Regions from separate parts of the Homo sapiens genome. Here regions 2 and 3 are each linked to region 1. The links are contacts of gene promoters, found by promoter capture Hi-C in blood cells and fetal thymus (Javierre and others, 2016). All regions are on one chromosome and are shown on one strand. The core of a region is centred on a gene start or on the middle of the fragment in contact, and the rest is flanking DNA. Distances in the headings are between cores, read along the strand shown.

Evidence for each region. The method cuts DNA at HindIII sites, captures the fragments that hold promoters and counts their contacts. A CHiCAGO score of 5 or more calls a contact.
Region 2: a fragment that was not itself captured here is called in contact with the fragment with the promoter of IHH in region 1 in 8 of 17 cell types (erythroblasts, naive CD4 T cells, naive B cells and 5 more); the score reaches 9.1 in erythroblasts.
Region 3: a fragment that was not itself captured here is called in contact with the fragment with the promoter of IHH in region 1 in 1 of 17 cell types (total CD8 T cells); the score reaches 5.4 in total CD8 T cells.

The regions. Positions count from the first base shown.
Region 1 is chr2:219,059,639-219,062,396 of GRCh38, reverse strand. It overlaps IHH (Indian hedgehog signaling molecule), which reads left to right and starts at 1,476. Exons shown (of 3, transcript NM_002181.4): 1 at 1,476-2,244. The coding sequence starts at 1,930. It overlaps LOC124906120 (a long non-coding RNA gene), which reads right to left and starts at 704. Exons shown (of 3, transcript XR_007088092.1): 1 at 1-704. The HindIII fragment of the contact is 5,239 bases long and covers 1-2,758 here.
Region 2 is chr2:219,360,087-219,362,955 of GRCh38, reverse strand. It overlaps LOC105373883 (a long non-coding RNA gene), which reads left to right. Exons shown (of 2, transcript XR_923917.3): 2 at 148-454. Among named protein-coding and RNA genes, the nearest start is that of DNPEP, 26 kb to the left of the region's middle. RefSeq lists an enhancer at 344-393. The HindIII fragment of the contact is 2,100 bases long and covers 458-2,557 here.
Region 3 is chr2:219,399,568-219,402,539 of GRCh38, reverse strand. DNPEP-AS1 (DNPEP antisense RNA 1) reads right to left here. Exons shown (of 4, transcript NR_183823.1): 3 at 2,136-2,217. It also overlaps a transcript of DNPEP not described here. Among named protein-coding and RNA genes, the nearest start is that of DNPEP-AS1, 12 kb to the right of the region's middle. The HindIII fragment of the contact is 3,586 bases long and covers 1-2,972 here.

The DNA.
Region 1 (2,758 bases), core at 227-2,726:
TTGAGTCTCATCCAATCCTGAATTTGTGTTTATAAAACCGATCCAGAGAGTGTGAGTAAATCTGTGAACAGCTACTTCAGCCCCGAACCCAGTGGTGTTGAGTGGACTGGTCCTGCACAGAGGGACAATGCACCTGCATGGGCAAAAACTGGGGCTGGGCCAGAGTCATGGGCTTCAATCCCTGCTTTTCAGCCACTAGCAAGTTGTTCATCTTCTCTGAACTTCAATATCTTCATTCGTAAAATGTGGACAGTAATAGCTCCTTTGGCCGTTTCGAGTTTAAATTAGATAATGCAAGTAGAAGACATAGTACAATAATATCTAATAACTACCATGTTCAGGAATATAAGTACCAATAAAATGGTACCTATTGTATTAATAGCATTTGAGTGAGAATTTTTAAGTCTTTTTATTTCTCATCTTTTCATTTCTACCTTTATTGGATTTGTAGAATCTATTACAGTCAAATCATATAGTTTGGTGTTGTGGTGGTGATGTTTTTTGTTTGCTTTTTAACACACTTGCCTTTACTTGTTTTGGCAGAAGGGATCCTAATTCATTCAGCTTTCTCGAATGTCATATAAAAACACATAACACATGTTCACGTTCCTAGTTGTTTCTACATATTCTCTGCTCTTTTAGATGTGTAATATAGAACCAAGTAATTATTTAGCAGTTCCGGTGGCTTTGCATCATTTTGGCATTCATACCAAGCCCCCGTTACTGAGATCTTTGCTGCCCCTCTTTAACATGGTCAGTCGGGGTTCCTCGGTATTCTGTTGACGTCACCATTTTAGCTACCCTTCTCTGCATATTGACCTATCCCTTTGCAACTTCATATTGTCACTTTCAACAGTGTTTCCAACTTAAAACCCCCTATTTGACTCTTCAAAAGGCTAGACTCCCCATCCCCAGTTTGACACCGACAGGCAGGCTGTGGGATGTGCACCAGGTTGATACAGAACCCAGCTCCACCAAGCTGAAAGGGCGCGTCGCCCGGGCCAGGGTGGGGCACCAGGTTATGAGTGGCCTCCTGCCTTTTGGGTTTGCTTCCCCGCAGGGGACACCGTAGGCGGCTGTGCGGTCCGGCCACTGCCCCCCGCCCCTCGCGTCCGGCCGCGCCGTGGGTTGCGGTCTCCGTGGGGGTGGCAGCTCCTGTCCGGGAGGTTTGCGCCTGGCGGGGCACCCCAGAGCCGCGAAGAGCCGGTAGGCGAGGCCAGGGCGGGGTGGGGCGCGTCCAGGCGGGGAGGGCAAACTCGGGCAGCGCAGGGGGCGCAGAGGGCAGCGGGCGGGCGGACGCGCGGCGGAGGCGCGAGCGGGACGAGGGCTGGCTAGTGCCGGGGCCGCCCGCCCGAGGGGGAGGAGGCTGTGCTGCCCTTGCTGCAGGTTCGCTGTCGAGCGCACAGGAGGCAGGGACATGGGTAGGGTGCGGTCTGCGCGGGGCCCGAGCCCGGATCTCTTCCATTTCCCCTCTCACTCGGCCCCGGGCTGCGCCGCAGACGGCAGCAGCTCCCGCTCCGCCCGAGCCGCCTGACCGCCGGGCCGGGGTGCTAACCGCGGGGCCCTGCAGCCCGCCGGCCCGGCCAGCCCAGCCCAGCCCGGCGGCCCGCAGCCCCGCCGCCCGCCGCCCCCCGCCGCCGCCGCGTTGCCAAAACAAACGGGCCGGCCTATTTATTGGCGGCCGGCGAGCCCGGCAGCTCAGAGTCGAGGCGCCGAGGGGGACAGCGCGCCGCCACCAGCTCGGGCCCTGGGCCCCCGCCCCGCACTTGAGTCCCGCCGGCCCTGGCCGCACCACGCCGCCCATGGCGCCCCCGCCTGGAGCCCCCCGGAGCCACCCGGACGCCTGAGCCCCCGCAGCGCTCCCGTCGACGCGCCTGCCCATCAGCCCACCAGGAGACCTCGCCCGCCGCTCCCCCGGGCTCCCCGGCCATGTCTCCCGCCCGGCTCCGGCCCCGACTGCACTTCTGCCTGGTCCTGTTGCTGCTGCTGGTGGTGCCGGCGGCATGGGGCTGCGGGCCGGGTCGGGTGGTGGGCAGCCGCCGGCGACCGCCACGCAAACTCGTGCCGCTCGCCTACAAGCAGTTCAGCCCCAATGTGCCCGAGAAGACCCTGGGCGCCAGCGGACGCTATGAAGGCAAGATCGCTCGCAGCTCCGAGCGCTTCAAGGAGCTCACCCCCAATTACAATCCAGACATCATCTTCAAGGACGAGGAGAACACAGGCGCCGACCGCCTCATGACCCAGGTGAGCGCGATCCGCCCTACCAGCGCGCCGCCACCGAAGCACGGCCACCTGCCCGGCCCTACCCACCCCCTGGCACATTTTCTCGACTGGCTGGCACGCTCCCTGGCACCTGCCCCTCTCGCCAAGCCCCGCTGCCTCCTGCCCAAGATGGGCTGGCCAGGGGTCCAGGCAGGAGTGTCGGCATCCCCAAGCCCGGAGGAGACTGCTAGAAGAGCTCCCCGCTGCCAAGCCCCACAGCCCAGCAGGTTGGCGGCGGCTCCTCTGCCCCAAAGTACTGGCAGCTCAGCCAGACGCTGCACCCGGAGGTACCTCTACCCGGCTGCCTCCTGCGCCTCCAGGACCCACGCAGTCCCTCCCGGCCTAACCTTCTGCACAGCTGTGCCCCTTTCATTTTGAAACTTTTCGGCACCCCTGAGGCAAAGAATCTCTGGGTGCGTAGGGTCACCACGGCCTTTCCTCCCTGTGCGCTCTTGGTTCTACGGGCTGCCCCTTCCAGGAGCAGCGTCCCGGCTGG
Region 2 (2,869 bases), core at 258-2,757, 300 kb before region 1:
GAATTCATGCCTTTGTGTAGTCCCTCCCACAGTGTATCAGGGTTGGTCTCTGTGGCCAGTATAATATGGCAGAAATGATGGCATGGGACTTCCAAAGCTAGGTTTTAAAAACACTGTGGCTTTTGCCTGGTTCTCTCTCTCTCTCAGGTCACTCACTCCAGAGGAAGCCAGCTGCTGTGTCATGAGGCACTCAAGCAGCCATATGGAGAGGCTGATGTGGTAGGGAACTGAGACCTCCTGCCAACAGCCAGCATCGTCTTGCCAGGAGGGTGAGTCATCTTGAAAGTGGATCCTCTAGCCCCACGCAAGCCTTCAGAAGACTACAGCCAACCCTGAGTAACATCTTCACTGCAACTTCAAGAGAGACCCTGAACCAAAAATACCCAGCTAAGCCTCTCTCAGATTCCCAGTCCACAGAAACTGTGAAATAGATGTTTATAGTTTAAGCGACTAAGCTTTGGGGTAATTTGTCATGTAGCAATAAGCCATAGATATTCTTTGCTAAAACTGGATTTTTAAAAAAAGTAATAGACAATGAATACAAGTACACTACATGTACACATATACACATTGACACACACATCCCATCTACATACACAAATACATCTCCCACACATACAAACCTACATACGCACACACAAACACACATGCATACAGTACACATTGATTCATACAAACACATGCACACACATATAAACACATGGACACAACACCCATGCACAAACATATAAACACATGTATACACATATAAACACATGTACGCATGCGCAAGTCCCGAGAACCCACTTCTAGAGTCTTTGGGCTCTTCACCATCTAGATGCCCACCTGGGGCTCCCCATAGAGCTCTGACCCATCTCGGAGGAGCTGCCTCTTCTCTCTCTTTTTTTTTTTTTTTTTGAGATGGAGTTTTGCTCTGTCACCCAGGCTGGAATGCAGTGGCACAATCTCTGCTCACTGCAACCTCTGCCTCCCGGGTTCAAGCAATTCTTCTGCCTCAGCCTCCAGAGTAGCTGGGACTACAGGCACATGCCACCATGGCCAGCTAATTTTTGTACTTTTAGTAGAGACGGGGTTTCACCATGTTGGCCAGGCTGGTCTTGAACTCCTGACCTTGTGATCTACCCGCCTCGGCCTCCCAAAGTGCTGGGATTACAGGCGTGAGCCACCGTGCCTGGCCTGAGGAGCTGCCTCTTCTCTAGGAGATTCCCACCAGAGGTGATCCTGTCCTTGAGGGAAGACCTTGTTTCCCGACAAAGGGTGGTGGCCTGAGTCTTGCAGGCCTCAGTGCAATGATAGCACCATCCCCACTGGCTATCCAAGAAGAGGCACAGGCATGGTGGCCCACCCTCTCCCTATCAAGGTGGGCAGCCTTTGTTCCCTGGGGTCAGGTGGGCTGTCTCACACCTTCCCCCTGGTGAGCTGTAAGGCAGGTCTCCTGGATTCTGCTCCTGATTCTCTACCAGACCAGGCCTCTCTGCCCTTCTGGGTTTCAAGGTCTTTCACCTTGAAACCTTGGGGCATAGCCGAAATCTACAAACCCAGAGAGGCTGAAGCTGAAAGGAACTAGAATTCAACTCACAATGCATTTGTGCAACACGAGGCTGCTTTATATCCATCATCTCATTTCATTTTCACAGTCACCCTGATGAGCTGCCCATCTAACAGATAAGAGCACTGAGGCAGAGGTGTTTCATCTGGGGCCTCAGGACCCAAAATCTGTTTCATTTTGGAGCATCCAGGCTGAGCTAGGTCCTGAGCCAGACACTGAGGATGTGATAGCAAATCAAACAGACATGTCTTCTGTCCTCTTGAAATTTACACTCCAGTGGGGAGACGCAAATAAACAAGTAAACAAAGGAAGAAGTCCATCGGCCGCGGTGGCTCATATCTGTAATCCTAGAACTTTGGGAGGCCAAGGCAGGTAGATCACCTGAGGTCAAGAGTTCAAGACCAGCCTGGCCAACATGGTGAAACCTCATCTCTAATAAAAATACAAAAATTAGCTGGGTGTGGTGGCAGGCGCCTACAATCCCAGCTACTTGGGAGGCTGAGGCAAGAGAATTGCTTGAACCCAAGAGGCAGAGGTTGCAGTGAGCCAAGATCGTCATTGCGCTCCAACCTGGGCAACAGAGCAAAAACTCCATCTCAAAACAAACAAAACAAACAAACAACAACAACAACAACAACAAAAAACGAAGAAGTCATGGACAGTGGTAAGAGTCATGAAGGTAATGAAGTGACAATTATTCCTAGGGACCAGAAACTACTTGGTGGGGAGGGTTATACTAGAACAAAGAGATAACAATGGAGGGTGGGGAGAAGCAGAAATGGCCTTTGAGAAGGACTCAGGTGTTCAAAGAATGGAAAGGAGGCTGGGAACAGAGAGAGCAAGATGAGAGAAGGAAATGAGGCTGGAGAGGAAGGCAAGGCTAGATCACGTTGGGGCTCATAGGCCATGGTCGGGAATTTAGCGTTTATTCAAAAGTGTAAATGAGGTGATCCATTGGATGGTGTTAAGCAAGGGAATAACATGCTTTAATTTATATTTTGGAAAGCTTCTCCTGGTGCTTAAGAGATTACAGGGAGGCAAGAGTGGAACAACAAATATTCAACAAGAACGACTGAGCACCTACAGTACACCAGACACAATCCCAGACTCCTAGAACACACCCCAAGTCATTAGTTACTCCAGGCAACTAGATGAGATTCAATTTCTGTAACAGGTGAAAGACGATGGCCAGCTGGGCATGGTGGCTCACGCCTGTAATCCCAGCACTTTGTAAGACTGAGGCAGGAGGTTCACTTGACCCTGGAAGTTTGAAACCAGCCTAGGCAACATAAGATCTTGTCTCTATTAAACATTTACAAA
Region 3 (2,972 bases), core at 473-2,972, 340 kb before region 1:
GAGTTGTTCATAATGTCCCAGACACCACACGCAGAGTTAATCCTTGTATTCGAGTGTTTACAGCTTCTCTGTGTGGCTGAGGGGGAGGGCACAGGCAGAGAAATGAACATCAGATCCAGGCTGCCTGATTTCCCCCGACCAAACGTGTCCATAATGGGAGCTTTCTCTGGCTAGGTCAGGGAACTGACTTCCTCCTCCTGGGCCACACTGCTGCTCTGAAAAATCCTCCCTGATCTCAAACACTGACCAAACTCCCAGCTGCATCTATATCAGAATCCCTGATCTCTCCTTCCCCACCATTGCCCTTTACCCAGAGCCCAGAGCTGGCAGTCAGGGAGGAGAGATGTGTTTTTAACCCACCTTGCAATGGATGGCCTGGCCAAGGCTGTTACTTACCATGACTTAGCAGCCACATGCAGCTTAATGCCATCTCTGGCTCACTCCCCCTTGCCAAGGACTGAAATGAAGGAGGCTCACTCTAGAGCACTGCCAGGGGTGTGCAGGGGGTGGGTGGTGGGGGGGTGTCTGCAAGTGCCCAGGGTCTATCTTTCTGGAAGATGGCAGGAGGGAGAGGAAGACCTGGTGAACATCTATTACTGATTGTCCCTGGGACCCTGGTGGCCTCCCGGAACTGCCGCCTCCCTCCTTCCCTTCATGATCAAACTTTTCAACTGTCCTCCCCACACCCATCTTCAGTTTCCCCTTGCAGGTTCCTCATTGTCCCATTTCCTCAGAATTCTTGCAGCTGCAGTCACACAGGCTATTGGTGCCCTGCTGGGTCCTCTACTCCTAGACCAGTGCTGTCTCACAGAAATACAATGGAAGCCATGTATGTCATTTTGAATGTTCTAGTAGCTGCAATTTTAAAACGTAATAAAAACAGGTCGGGCGCAGTGGCTCACGCCTGTAATCCCAGCGCTTTGGGAGGCCGAGGCGGGTGGATCACTTGAGGTCAGGAGTTCGAGACCAGCCTGGCCAACATGGAGAAACCTCATCTCTACTAGAAATGCAAAAATTAGCCAAGCGTGGTGGCAGGCACCTATAATCCCAGCTACTCAGGAGGCTGAGGCAGGGGAATTGCTTGAACCCAGGAGGGGAAGATTGCAGTGAGCCAAGATGGTGCCACTGCACTCCAGCCTGGGTGACAGAGCGAGACTTTGTATCAAAAAAAAAAAAGTAATAAAAACAGGTGAAATTAATGTTACTAATATAGCAATGATAGTATATTTAACAATGTATCCAAAATGCTATCATTTTAACCTGTAAGCAATATCTTAAAATGGAGATATTTCATACATTTTGTACATAATCCAGTGGCACATTGTTTTATAGGTATAGCATTTCTCAATGTGAGAGGTACTTGAAGGTGTAGCCACATGTCAAGGGCTCAATAGCCCTGCATAGCTGGTGGCTGCTGTACTAGCCAGCACAGTTCTAGAGCCTTCATTCTCTACTTGGCATCCACGATTTTGCCGAGTCCAGTAATTATCCCATTCCCATGTGGCCTGTCTCCCTTGGGAGATTCGAAACCCCTCCTCCCCCAGGGGCAGAGTCCTCATTTTGCTCATCCCTCTGACTCCCAGGGCACCATCAAACTGTGCCCCACACCCAGGAGGCCCTCAAAGCATGTTTGTTGATGGGAGTGAGCGTTCGGGATTGATTTTTGTGGTTCAGTTATGGCTGTAAATGGTGTTTTATAGATTGCTTCTATAGAAGCACCCTGCTGCAATATTAGCAGAAACAAGCAGCAGTGGTTGTCAGCACAGGCAGAGGCCTCGGGGCAGATGGGGCTCCCTGAATCAGGCGGGGGAAATCCTGCTAGATGAGATACCATTGCTCTGGTTTAAGAGCCTGTCATTGCCACAGCGTGCTCCTCCAAGCAACCCCATCTCTGTTAGAGCTCAGAGATAGCCCCTGTCAGAGTGCATGACACAAAGGATGTGTCTCCAGCAACCCGCCACCAGGCTGGCAGCTTTCTCAGGGCAGAAATGGGAGTTATTCAGGTGGACAAGAGCCTGGCCCACAACAGATGCACCAGGCATGCATTTCGAATGAATAAATGAATGGATGACCAGAGTGAGTGAAGCCTCTCGTTCATGTCTTCATGCCCCAGAAAGTCTTTATCGAGCACTTACTATATCAGACACTGTGCTTGGTACTGGGACACAGCAGGGAACAAGGAAACAGGGAGGGTCGTGTCCTCCTGGAGCTCACATTCTGATGGGAGAGACAGATAATAAAAAAGTAAACACGGATAAGTGAAATAATTAGAGCACTGGCTGGCAGGAAGCAAACAAAGGGGCCAAAATAGAGAATGAGGGAGGAGTTCTTCAAGGAAAGAAGAAAGTCTCTATTCTTAGCCTCCCAGAATACAAGACACCCCTCCCCCAGGTCAGGTGTCAACATTTAGACGTTGGCCACCATACGTCAGCCTGTGGCTTGGGGTGCCCTGAGGATGTTACTGCTTCAAATTGCACTGGTGATGTCATAATGGGCTCTAGGGATGTCGGAGAGCCCTGCAAGTTGGGGCCCAAGGCAGGGGAAGGATCCGGCAAAAAAGGCACACGGTTCAGGCCTGTCCACTCCAGCCTTGGGAGGAGGTGAGCAGGTCACCATGGCTCGGAGCCTCTCCATCATGTTCGTCCCCAACAGCTGGCTCAATGGCTACCACAAGGTAACCGGGGCCTGTCTAGTTCTGTGGCCAGCCAGTGCAGACACGTTCCTAGGCACCAGCCTTCCATGAGCCACGCACTGGCTTAGGCATTATGGGGATAAAGAGATGAATGAAATAGGGTCCCCTGCTCTCAGTCTGCTAACAAACCAGACCTCGAGCAAGTGGCTTAACAGAATAATACTCATCATCATCTTGGCTAACTTTGGAGGATTTAATCTTTCCAAACAACCCTGTCTGGTGCCCTATTCTCTCCACGTTGCCCAACAACTGAGTTCAAGGGCAGCCCACCCATCGGCAC